Regions from separate parts of the Homo sapiens genome. Here region 1 is linked to region 2. Evidence: promoter capture Hi-C in 16 types of primary human blood cells and fetal thymus (Javierre and others, 2016). All regions are on one chromosome and are shown on one strand. The core of a region is centred on a gene start or on the middle of the fragment in contact, and the rest is flanking DNA. Distances in the headings are between cores, read along the strand shown. Region 1 overlaps GRIN3A (glutamate ionotropic receptor NMDA type subunit 3A). Region 2 holds the start of OR13C5 (olfactory receptor family 13 subfamily C member 5).

Evidence for each region. The method cuts DNA at HindIII sites, captures the fragments that hold promoters and counts their contacts. A CHiCAGO score of 5 or more calls a contact.
Region 1: a contact is called between a fragment that was not itself captured here and the fragment with the promoter of OR13C5 in region 2, in 1 of 17 cell types (endothelial precursors). The highest score is 5.5, in endothelial precursors.

What each region holds. Positions count from the first base shown.
Region 1 is chr9:101,585,700-101,591,506 of GRCh38, forward strand. All of the region lies in intron 6 of GRIN3A (glutamate ionotropic receptor NMDA type subunit 3A), which reads right to left. Among named protein-coding and RNA genes, the nearest start is that of PPP3R2, 6.4 kb to the right of the region's middle. RefSeq lists an enhancer at 1,022-1,071. The HindIII fragment of the contact is 1,225 bases long and covers 766-1,990 here.
Region 2 is chr9:104,595,230-104,600,979 of GRCh38, forward strand. OR13C5 (olfactory receptor family 13 subfamily C member 5) reads right to left here and starts at 4,184. Exons shown (of 1, transcript NM_001004482.1): 1 at 3,228-4,184. The coding sequence starts at 4,184. The coding sequence ends at 3,228. The region is part of intron 3 of LOC107987105 (a long non-coding RNA gene); the gene reads right to left. The HindIII fragment of the contact is 5,863 bases long and covers 1,107-5,750 here.

The DNA of each region.
Region 1 (5,807 bases), core at 128-2,627, 3.0 Mb before region 2:
TCCACCAACCACCCTGATCCAAGCCACCATCCCCTCTCACCTCACCTAGATTATTGAGACAGCCTCCTAGTTGTTTTCCCTAACCCCTTCTGTCTTCTTCACAGCAGTGAGAATGACTGTCATGTCACTCCTGTGCTCAATGCCTGGTCATGGTTTTCTGTCTCTTGCGGAGTAAATTCAGAGTCCTTGCAATGGGCTATGAGGCCTCACAAGATCTATTTCCTCATATCCTTCTTCTCTCTCGCTGGTTGACTTTGCTCAGCCATTTGGGCTTCCTTATTGTTCCTTAAATCTATTGAGCAACTTGCCACTTGAGGGTATTTTCATTTTCTGTTCGTGCCTGTAAACTCTTCTGCCAGGAATCAATATTGCTCCTTCCCTCACTTTCTTTAGGTTTCTTCTCAAATGTCACCTATCCATGAAGTTTACCCTAATCACTGTGCTTAAAAAGGCAAATTCTTTTCCCCCTTCCATCCTCTTTCAGATACAATCTATCTCTCTTACTTTGCTTTATTTCTCTCTTGACATAGTATGTGTTTATTTGTTTATTGCCTATTTCCCCAGCAAAGTAGAATGTAAGCTACAGGAGGGCAGCACTTTTGTCCATTTTGCTCGATACATACTCTTGTTTAGAACAGTGCCCAGCACGGTGAATATTTTTTAAATGAATGAATGAAAGCATATGAAAACTAGGATTTTTTGTATAAAATAAATTTGCATAATTTCCCCCACCCCCGATCCCAAACAGTCTCATTATATCACAGAAGCTTCCTAGAACAGTTGTTTAAGAGAGAAGGGTGGAGATGGACATTCTCAATTAAAAGGAGAGGAAACAAGGCCCAGTTTTGCTAGCCTGACCTGATCATGCTAATATTCACCAATCTAGGGATCTACTGTTGAAACTGGGACAAAAAATTTTTTAAATTACTGAAGTAAAACACTGGAAACTGAATGCAAAAATTTCAGGAGGAATGTATTGATTTTGTTTTCTTAGGATCCTTTCTTTGGGGAACTGCCCTCTTCCTGCTTCATGTGGTTTTGGTGTATCTACCAATCACAGACTCCCTGCTCCCTGTTCACCAGGCAAAGCATGAGACTCAAGGCCAGTCAATGTGAATCTGAAACAGAAACACTGGATATCAAAGGTGTTTGGAGATGAGTCATTTCCAATGTCAGTGCCCCAAAGACATAGTCCCCTAGTTCCTGCACTAGCATCCTTGGAGTGCTGTGGTTCGAGGCTTCATCTGTCACTCTCTTTCTTACTTCAAAACATTGAGCTTTCCCGTTATTCTTTTGATAGGTTTTGCTTAAGTTTAAAAATCTGTTGCAGCCGGGCGCAGTGGCTCACGCCTGTAATCCTAACACTTTGGGAGGCCGAGACAAGTGGATCATCTGAGGTCAGGAGTTCGAGACCAGCCTGATCAACATGGTGAAACCCTGTCTCTACTAAAAATACAAAAATTAGTCAGGCATGGTGGCAGGTGCCTGTAGTTCCAGCTACTCGGGAGGCTGAGGCAGGAGAATTGCTTGAATCCGGGAGGCAGAGGCTGCAGTGAGCTGAAATTGCACCACTGCAATCCAGCCTGGGCAACAGAGCGAGACTCCATCTCAAAAAAAAAAAAAAAAAATCTGTTGCTTGCAACCAAATAATCTGATTCAATATATGTACTGTTTAAAGGATTAAGGTCCTCTAGCTCCGAGGTGTGAATATAACTTCTTTTGAGATAGACTGTATCCTGACGCAGATCTCAGAAATGAACGGGTGGAGCCTGTTTTAGGAAGTCTTCTCTGACAGGGTAAGGCTGTGTTGCTTTTGCCTGTCTCCAGCAGCCTAGTATATAGTAAGTTCAATAAAAAATAAAAAGCACATGTCTGAAAAGTAACTTAATTACATTTACTCTGACATTCCCTATTAAATATTTTTCCCCAGAGCAAAATGACTGCAAGAACCTGGGAAAATAATTGTATTTTTCAGTGACCTAATGCACTAAGCTTTGTATCATCTCCTCTCTGGATCTGCACAGCCAAATGCGATGTTCAAGAATTTTTTTCCTTAATAAGAGAGCTGGTGGCAGGGGGAGAAATAATGATTTTAATGAGAGGTAAGGAAAAGAAAAAGGCTGTGGTGCTTCTGAAATATGGATGACTCATAGATGCTTGGAAGCAGGACAAGGAAGAAGCAAATGCTATTTCTAATTTTGAAGACCTGGTATCTATTTTATTTATTTATTTATTTATTTATTGCCTCCTGATTATTTTGCCCAGAAGAATAGTTAGTTGCTCAAAAGAACTTGGCAGATTCATTGCTGTGTCTATACATATGGCCCCTTGTTGGGGAGAAGTAGGAGAATGATATCCACATGAAATGTGGGCTCCAGATGTACCAAAGACAGAGTTTCCCAGGTGAGAGAGTCTGGTTGAAGAGAGTTAGGTAAGATTGTGCGGTGCAATCATTTGGAATTAAAACATATATATTTAACAAGAATCATGAAGAGGGAGAAAAAAGATTCATTCAGAGAACCTGGAAGTTTCTCATTAACCAAGACATAGTGAAAGATCACACTTAACAAAAGAAACAGAAGAGGAGATAATTTATTAACACAAAATCCAGGGAGACACTGCATGAGCCTGAGTAGTGCTCACACATTTGGATAAACAAGGATTTTGACAGCACTCTCTGCATTCCTCTAACCTGGAAACTGCTTAGTGGCTCATCAACATGGCACTGCCCATGTTGCTGTGAAGATGCTTCTCTCTCCCTGTTTCTTGGGATTCTTGAGCCCCCATTTCTTTTAAGCTTGGGCGACCATCTTTTAGGGTTGAAATTGTACTTAATTTGCCACATTAGCTCTGTTGTGCAGTTTTTTGAAAAATTTATTATTAAAACGACTCAGAAAAATATTTTTAAAAACTAAATGTGAGATTACCCATAATCCTTGTACTATAAAACAATTACTTTCAATGCTCCATTTTCTCTTCTGAACAATGACCATATGCACACATATTCTTCAGAGTTCTAAACATAGGATATAACAAGTTTGCATTATGCTTTTAAAAGAACTTATTTTCTAACAAACTATTTTAATATTTCTAAAAATATTATTTTCTAAATATTATTTTATTTATTAACTTTAGTTGCCTAATACTATCACCTATTGTTTTTGTTATAATTGACTTGACTACTCCCAAACTGTGGTTGTTTAATTTTTTAAATATTATAATTTATGGTATATACGACAAATATTGCTACAATAAAAATTTTGTGTATAGTATTTTTTTTTCTTTTTTTGAGATGGCGTTTCACTGTGACTCCCAGGGCAGAATGTAGTGGAGCGATCTCAACTCACTGCAACCTCCGCCTTTCTGGTTCAAATGATTCTCCTGTTTCTGCCTCCCAAGTAGCTGGGACTAAAGGCATGTGCCACCACGCCTGGCTGATTTTTGTATTTTTTTAATAGAGATGGGGTTTCAGCATGTTGACCAGGCTGGTCTTGAACTCCTGACCTCAAGCGATCCACCTGCCTCGGCCTCCCAAAGTGCTGGGATTAAAGACGTGAGCCTCTGCACCTGGCCATGTATAGCATTTTAAAATATTTTTATTTCTTTGAGATATACATTGCAATGAGTGAGATTACCTGGTCAAAGGATACAACTGTTCTGATGACTTGTGATGTGTAAAATGACCCATAAAAAGGGTGAAAGCCATTCCCAATGCCACCAAAGATACTGCAATGCCTAGAAGGCTTCTATTTTTGCCAACTGTTTTATAATTATTCATTTTTCCTGTTTTAAATATTGTAATTTGTATTTATTGAATTAGCAAGCCTATTTTTCCATGTTTGTTTTACCTATCTCCTTTTGAATGAATCATATAATGACTTTTTTGCATATTTATTTATGCATATCAGACACAATGAAGCTTTTTTTTGAAAAACTGCTAACCCTTTTGCTAACATGTTATGTTTCTCCCTTTTTATGTTTTCTTTGTTTTGTTATATTTTATTATATAAAAGTTTGAAGTTTTACACAGCTATACTTATTTTGATTATTGTACATTTTTCTACTGTTTCAGGCATTAGAACATATTGATTATGGGGATAAATATTTTGTGTCCAGTGTTATATCTTTAAAAAATAGTGAACCCTTCAGTCCATTTTGAACTTCTGTGCCAAAGAGTGTAACTATGTTAATTTTTCTTCACTGAAACTCTTAATTTCATCTCAATATTTCAGAGACTCCTTAGTCAATAAAAAGCTACCTCCATATTAGAGTGACCTGCATTTCTTTGTAGTAATTTAGGTTTTTATTTAAAATCTTTAAAGGTTTTATTTAAAATATTGGTAATTTTTAAAAAACATTGTGAGAACAAACACCATGTAAAACCAGTAACAACGAAAGCAAACATTTGTAGGTCAGAGTTAGCCTGTGAGTAGTCAGACTGTCTTCTGATCTACACAGCTTTACTGCTACTACGGTGACCCTTCAGTGTTAGAATTTTTCATTATGAATCAGCTAATTCCTGATGATTCATGATTTATAGTTCACAGTCATTGGCTACTGGGGTAGGTACGGTAGTTGACACGGCAGCAGAGAAGTCCGGTCTGATTCTCAGTCTGGTGGCCTTGTTCCTCTACCATAATGACACTCTATTTATTTATTTATTTATTTATTTATTTATTTATTTATTTATTTATTTTTTTGAGATGGAATCTCGCTCTGTCACCCAGGCTGGAGTGCAGTGGTGTGATCTCAGCTCACTGCAACCTCTGTCTCCCTGGTTCAAGCAATTCTCCTGCCTCAGCCTTCCGAGTAGCTGGGATTACAGGCACGTGCCACCACGCCCAGCTAATTTTTGTATTTTTAGTAGAGATGGGGTTTCACCATGTTGGCCAGGATGGTCTCGATCTCCTGACCTCGTGATCTGCCCGCCTCGGCCTCCCAAAGTGCGGGGATTACAGGCATGAGCCACCGCGCCCGGCCAACACTCTTTTTAAAAACATCCGAGCCTCCTCCTGTTCAAAGTATTCAAAATAGATATAACACCATAGCAGACTAACTACCTACTCTATCTCTTAACAGAAAGAAAGAGTCAGTACTATAAGTAGAGAATGGAATTTATACTTTTTTTAAATAAAAAATTGTCTTCATTTAAAAAATTCATACTGTTCCTCAGACAGTGGCTTAGGAATTTGTAATTAACAAAAATGTCTGGAAGATATTTTTTCCTTGAGAATGTTTCTAAAGCATGAGAGAATATACACCAAAGCTAAATTGAATTTGCTGAGGCCATATTTTTTTCTCTGTTTCAAAAAGAGTGTCTAGTGGTCTGGGGATTGCAACATATGGTACAGAGCAGACATAATCCAATTAACATAGGATTCATAACAACATATTGTGACTGATCTCTATAGCCTCAGAGCATATTGGTTTGCGTTATCGGTTTAATCTAAATATTGTCACCTGTTTCTCAAGATGAGCCAAAGGTGGAACATGGCTTAAAACTGTCTCGTCTAACATATCTGTTTCATTGCAATGCATAGAACCAAAGAGGTGGAGGCTGCTTGTTCTTTGACAAGCAATTTACCTCTTTGGGCTTCAGTTTCATCATTTATGAAAACTGAGGCTTGATTTGATGACATGGTTAAGACTATAATAAATAATTTGTAACAGGTAGATATAGGAGCTATAAAAATAAGATAAATGCAGAGAGGTAGAAATAAAGCTCAGGATTTGGGGTCAGAAAGCCTGGTTCAAATCCATGCTTTGCCACTTACCAGCTGGGCGACTTTGGAGAAGATGCTAGATCT
Region 2 (5,750 bases), core at 2,934-5,433:
TCAAACCTTCCAATCCTAAACTGTTCATTGTGCCTTGACTTGCCTTTCCTGTGGAAATTCCAATAAAGGCAGTGGCCTAAACCTTCCCTGCACACCTGTTTTTTGCCTCCTGACCATCCTGGTGGCTTCCCCATGTGGCCCTGTATGATATATCATGCCCCTTATCTCTAAGACTTGTGGGTATAATAAACTTTGCTTTCCTGACCCTCTTCTGTGTCTCCTCATGTGGCTGCACCTGACTAACGATTTCCTAAAAGACTACAAAACAACTATGTTTTGGGGACCTGATATTGGATCTGTGGTGGAAGGAAGATTGCTTCTGGTTATTGCTCTGCATATGTTTAGCACTTTAGAGTGTACCAGTGCTGGCTGCCTTGTGCTATCCTATTCTTCTTATAATTGATATTCGGGATCAAAAAACATTTTAACCCTGGATATAGCTGTCACAAACACAAGCAATATTTATTATCACAGTATTTAGGAGCTGAGAAAAATAAGGTAGAATGAGAAAACTTTATTTGAAAAATTTACTGTTGCCTGGCATTGGCTATGGGCCATTTAAAACTAGGTTTTGAGTTCTGTAAAAATTAAGATTCTCTTTTCAGCAAATTGCAGAAAACATAAAATATTTTTAGCACCAAAATATTATAGCAAATGTAAAGCCAATTTCATACGAAGTGTATAAATGAGCTCCCAGGAATCCTATAAAACATTTTTCTAATGATATTAGTAAGGCAGCACAGAAGAAATGCAAATAAGTAAAAAAACACCTGGACACTATCTGGTGTATAATAAATATAAAGGAAATTACAAATATCAAAGTAAATTGTGGAAAACATCATTATAATAGAGTCTCTTGGTAGATCTTGATGTGGCCAACGTAACTGCAGTATGAGTAGATTCTGAGACAGGATTTCTTGTGCCTGGGAGACTAAGAGATGGAGGCCCAAACCTCAGTGGAAAGCTTCACCTATTTTAGCACAGACCAGGGTCAATTGTCCTGAATATTTTATGTTCCAACTTACATTCTGCCTGGAACCCAGTAATTGGAACTCATATCACGAAGCATTTGAAAACTTAAGGTGAAAAAATATACTTGAGGATAAAGCTTTCTTTTTTTTGAGAAGATGAAAAGGTTATCTATACTAATTGAGTCAGTGTTATTAACAATAAGCTGACATCCCTTCTAACTGGATCCAAACATTAAAAACTGAGCATACCTCTTTTTTTAATAAGTATGGATCTATTTATTAAATATTCTGCCAAAATGTAACAGCAGCTAAATACTTTAAAAACTGTATGTTTCTGACCAACATTTTCCATGGGGTCTAGGAAAACTAGACACAAATCTACATGTCTGCAAATTTAAAGAGTATTACAGAGAGTAATGTTCTTTAGACTCATGGAGATTTCAGCATGAAAAAATATTACAGTCATAAAAACAGGGGTACAGTCTGAGAAATGCATAATTGTCAAATCTTATTATGTTGTAAACATCACAGGGTATATTTATGCAAACCTAGATGATATAGCCTATTATACACTGAGGCTACATAGCATAGCCTATTGCTCCTAGGCTACAAAGCTGTACAGCATGCTACTGTACTGAACACTATAGGCAATTGTGTCACAATGGTATTTGTGTATCTAAAATAACAAGAAAAGTCACAGTAAAAATATAAAATTATAATCTCCTGAGACCACCATTATATGTTATCTGTCATTGATCAAAACGTTGTTAAATGGCACATGACTTTAGTTCCTTGTAGCTCTAGTTTACCTTAGATCAGCATTCATTCTGTATGCAGGGCATGGCCTCCAGAATTTCCCCAGAACCTCCAAATTTCCATGACATTGGTCTGAGCAACAAAGTGTCTTCACATAAAGAAGACACTTAATGAACTATATATGGAAACCCTGGAGACTTAATCTTTAGAACTCAAGGTAGTTCATGGCTATGATAACTCAAGATAATATTAAATAATATATTTTCCCCCAGGTTTTCATAGATAACAGAACATCAGTTTCCCCAGGCCAGTGGAGAATGAAAACTATGGCTTTTAATGTTAGTCTTTTCAGAATCATGGCAGACAACACATCCTGACATCTTCAAACTACCCCAGTATTTAGGGACCGAGAATAACATCTCATTTTTAAAGATTTCATTTTACGTAGCTTTTAGTATAATAGAGGCTGTCTGTAAGAGCCTGAAAAGGCTAATTGCAAAAAGTATATCAAGGATGTCTTATAAAGCAATGGCATATACAAATCCATAGAACAAAAAGAAGTATATGTGCAAATGTATAGCTATGAGGCAATTTTAAGAGAACTGTCGAATCCCTAGCAATGATGGGGAATAAGGGATTATTTGAAATTTTCTATTTGTCTATAGATATTATCCCATTACATTTTAATGTTAACAATAAGTTATAGGCCAAGGTGTACAAGCTCAAAATAGACTCATCACTATATACCCCTCATCTCACAAAATACAAGCCAATAAACATAATTTTCTAATAAGAGAGCTAACATGTTCCAGCAAAAAATGTAGAGTTGTTTTGTTTTGAACCCTCATTCTTTTACTTGTTATTTAATGATCACATATCATTTTAGATGAGTTGGTTGCCAATCTCTCCAAAATAAAAAAGACAACCAAAGACGTAAAAGAACTATACACTGAAAACTATAAAACATTGATAAAAAAATTGAAGAAGACATAAGTAAATCGAAAGATATTACATGTTCATGGATTAGAAGAATTAATATTGTGAAATGTCCATATTACCTAAAGCAATCTACAGATTCAATGCAATCTGTATCAAAATTCCAATGTCATTTTTCATAAAAATTGAAACAACAATCCTAAAATTTACATGGAACTAGAAAAGACCCTGCCTGGGCAAAGCAATCTGAAGCAAAAACAAAGCTGAGAGCACCATATGCTGCAGTTTTAAAATATGTTATAAAGTTATTGTAATCAAAAGAGCATGGTACTCAGATAAAAATAGACATATCAACCAATGGAACAGAATAGAAACTTATTTCCAAACACTGAAATTTATTTATTTACTTCTTTTCATTATGTATCGCAATCAGAGAAGTGTATTTTGGAGCTTTAGAACTTCGAGAGATGAATGTGAAACAGCAACGAGAACCTATCTGTTTAACCTTGGTTTCTCTAATTGATTTCCATATTGTGATTATAAAATTACTCTCACCTTTCTCATTTACTTGTTAAAATTTTTTCTTCTCAGTAGGTGTTTTACTGCCTCCTTCACATCCTTGTTTCTAAGACTGTAGATTAAAGGATTCATCATGGGAGTCATCACCCTGTAGAATATGAATATAAGTTTGTCAGTGGCATCCAAGTCATCTGAATTAAGTGTCTCTTGAGACTTGGGCTTCATGTACATGAGGAAGATGGTCCCACAGAATGTTATCACCACAGTCAGACGAGCTGAGCAGGTAGAGGAAGGTTTGCTTCTCCCCTCCGAAGAGCTAATTTTGAAGATGCTCAAAATGATTAACGTGTAAGAGACAATAATTAATAACAAAGGTGTCAATAGGAACAATGTTGTGGTCACAAGCAGGATGAACTCATTGCCTGAGATGTCAGCACAGGCCAGTTTCATGACAGCTAGAATTTCACAGGTGAAATGATTGATGATGTTATTCCTGCAGAAAGGCAATTGTACCACAAACACTGTTTGTACTGCAGAATTGACAGCTCCTATGATCCAGGACCCAGCTGCCATGGGTACATAGGCATCCTTACTCATGATGATGGGATATCTCAGAGGGTTGCAGATAGCCACATAGCGGTCAAAGGCCATCACGCCCAGAAGCACACACTCTGTTGTCCCCATGGCCAAGCTGAGGAACATCTGCACTGCACAGCCAGAAAGGGAAATGGTCTTTCTTTCTGAAAGGAAGCTCACTAGCGTGGAGGGAATAGAGGTGGTGGTGTAGCAGATGTCCAAGAAGGAGAGGTTCCCCAGAAAGAAGTACATAGGGGTGTGAAGGTGAGGGTCCAAGATGCTGATTAAAATGAGAGTACCATTCCCCAGAAGGATGACCACATACATTATGAAGATGAGCACAAAAAAGAGTAACTCAAGTCTTGGGTGACCAGAAAGTCCCTTCAGAAAAAATTCCACCAGAATGGTGTGGTTTTCCCATTCCATTTTACTCCCTCTTTAGCTTGTAAGACAGAGCATGTTAAGACAAATATTTATCTTACTCTGATTACTTTCAAGCATGTGTCAATGAATATGTGCCATAATTCCCAAGGAAAAAGAAAAATAAAATGGGAAAAGACCAAAGAAAGAAGAGAGAGCATAAAGAAAAGTCTACAGAAAAGAGGGAATTATGAATGGAGAGAGGGAAGGGAATGAATGAATGAATGAATGAATGGAGAGAAGGAAGGAAAGATAAAAGTAACATGTTTCATGCTACAGCCACTTAATTCATTTAATATCATCACAGTTCTAGGAAAGGGGTATTAGTATCCATATTTTACAGATGAATAAATCAAAGCGGATATGTTAAGTAAACTTGACCAAAGGTACATACTATATAGCAGAGCTAAGATTCAAACCGAAATATTCCTGTTGAAGTCTGAACTTTTTGTCATATTTGTCATCACATAGTAAACTGAAGGTTATAATAGAAATGAGCATTGTATTATGTAAAACTGAACACTAAACTATTTTATTGGCTATAAATCACCACACAATAGATCAATGCTCTTGTCACTCCTTGAAATTATACTATGTTACGTATATTGTCTGTCTTTCCCAGTAGAATGTAAACTTCATAAGGGCAGGTACTTATTCTTGCTTATTTCCACAGCCCCTGTAGCTAGAATAGAACAGACACCGAGGTAAATGTTCAAAAACATTTGTTGGATGCACAGACAAAATCAAAGGCAAAACAATTGCTATATTTCTTACTCTGCGCCAACCCTCTATTATTTGTTTTCTCTGTGCATTACATAATGGAGTCTGAAAAGCAAGCCTATGAGGTAATACTGTTACTCTTAGTATCACCAAGCCTATTGTGTAGAGGGGAAAATAAGGCACAGAAAAGTTAAGTAATTTGCTTAAGGTCAATTTCATAAAGACAGATAAATGAAAGAGCAAGGACTTAAACCCAAGCAGTATGGCTTCAGAATTCGAGCTCTTAATACTCAAAACTTAATACTCAGTACTTAATAACTTAATGCTTAAAGAGAATTTGCAAAGAGAATTTGGCTCATGGGCTAGAATATCTTGCAATCTCACTAACAGTATTAATATTTCAAAAGAAATATCAGATAAAAATGTGATTGGTCAGTAAGGGGATTTCAATATGGTAATTTGATAGCAGTTGATTTTGATGCTTCATATTTTGCTAGAAAAGTACTCATTTCTATAACAAATGTTTTGTCACAGAGTTGCATTTGATCATTATAATTCTTGTGTCCTCCCTTACATGAAAATTTCTCATTTTCATTATGATGCCTCTTTGACTTTTTTTTTCCTTTATTCAACTCACAAGGGGTTTTCCTATATTCCAGGTCTTTAAAAAAAAAAAACAGCTTTAGGATAGATTTATTCTCTTGACTTTTTGCGTTTCATTAAGTTTCTATCTTCATAAATTTCTTGTTTATTCGGATCTATTTTTCTAATTTTCTGATTTCTAATTTCTATTTTCCAAATCTATTTTTCTAATTTCTTGAAATAAGAAGACAAATTCTTATTTCCTCCTTC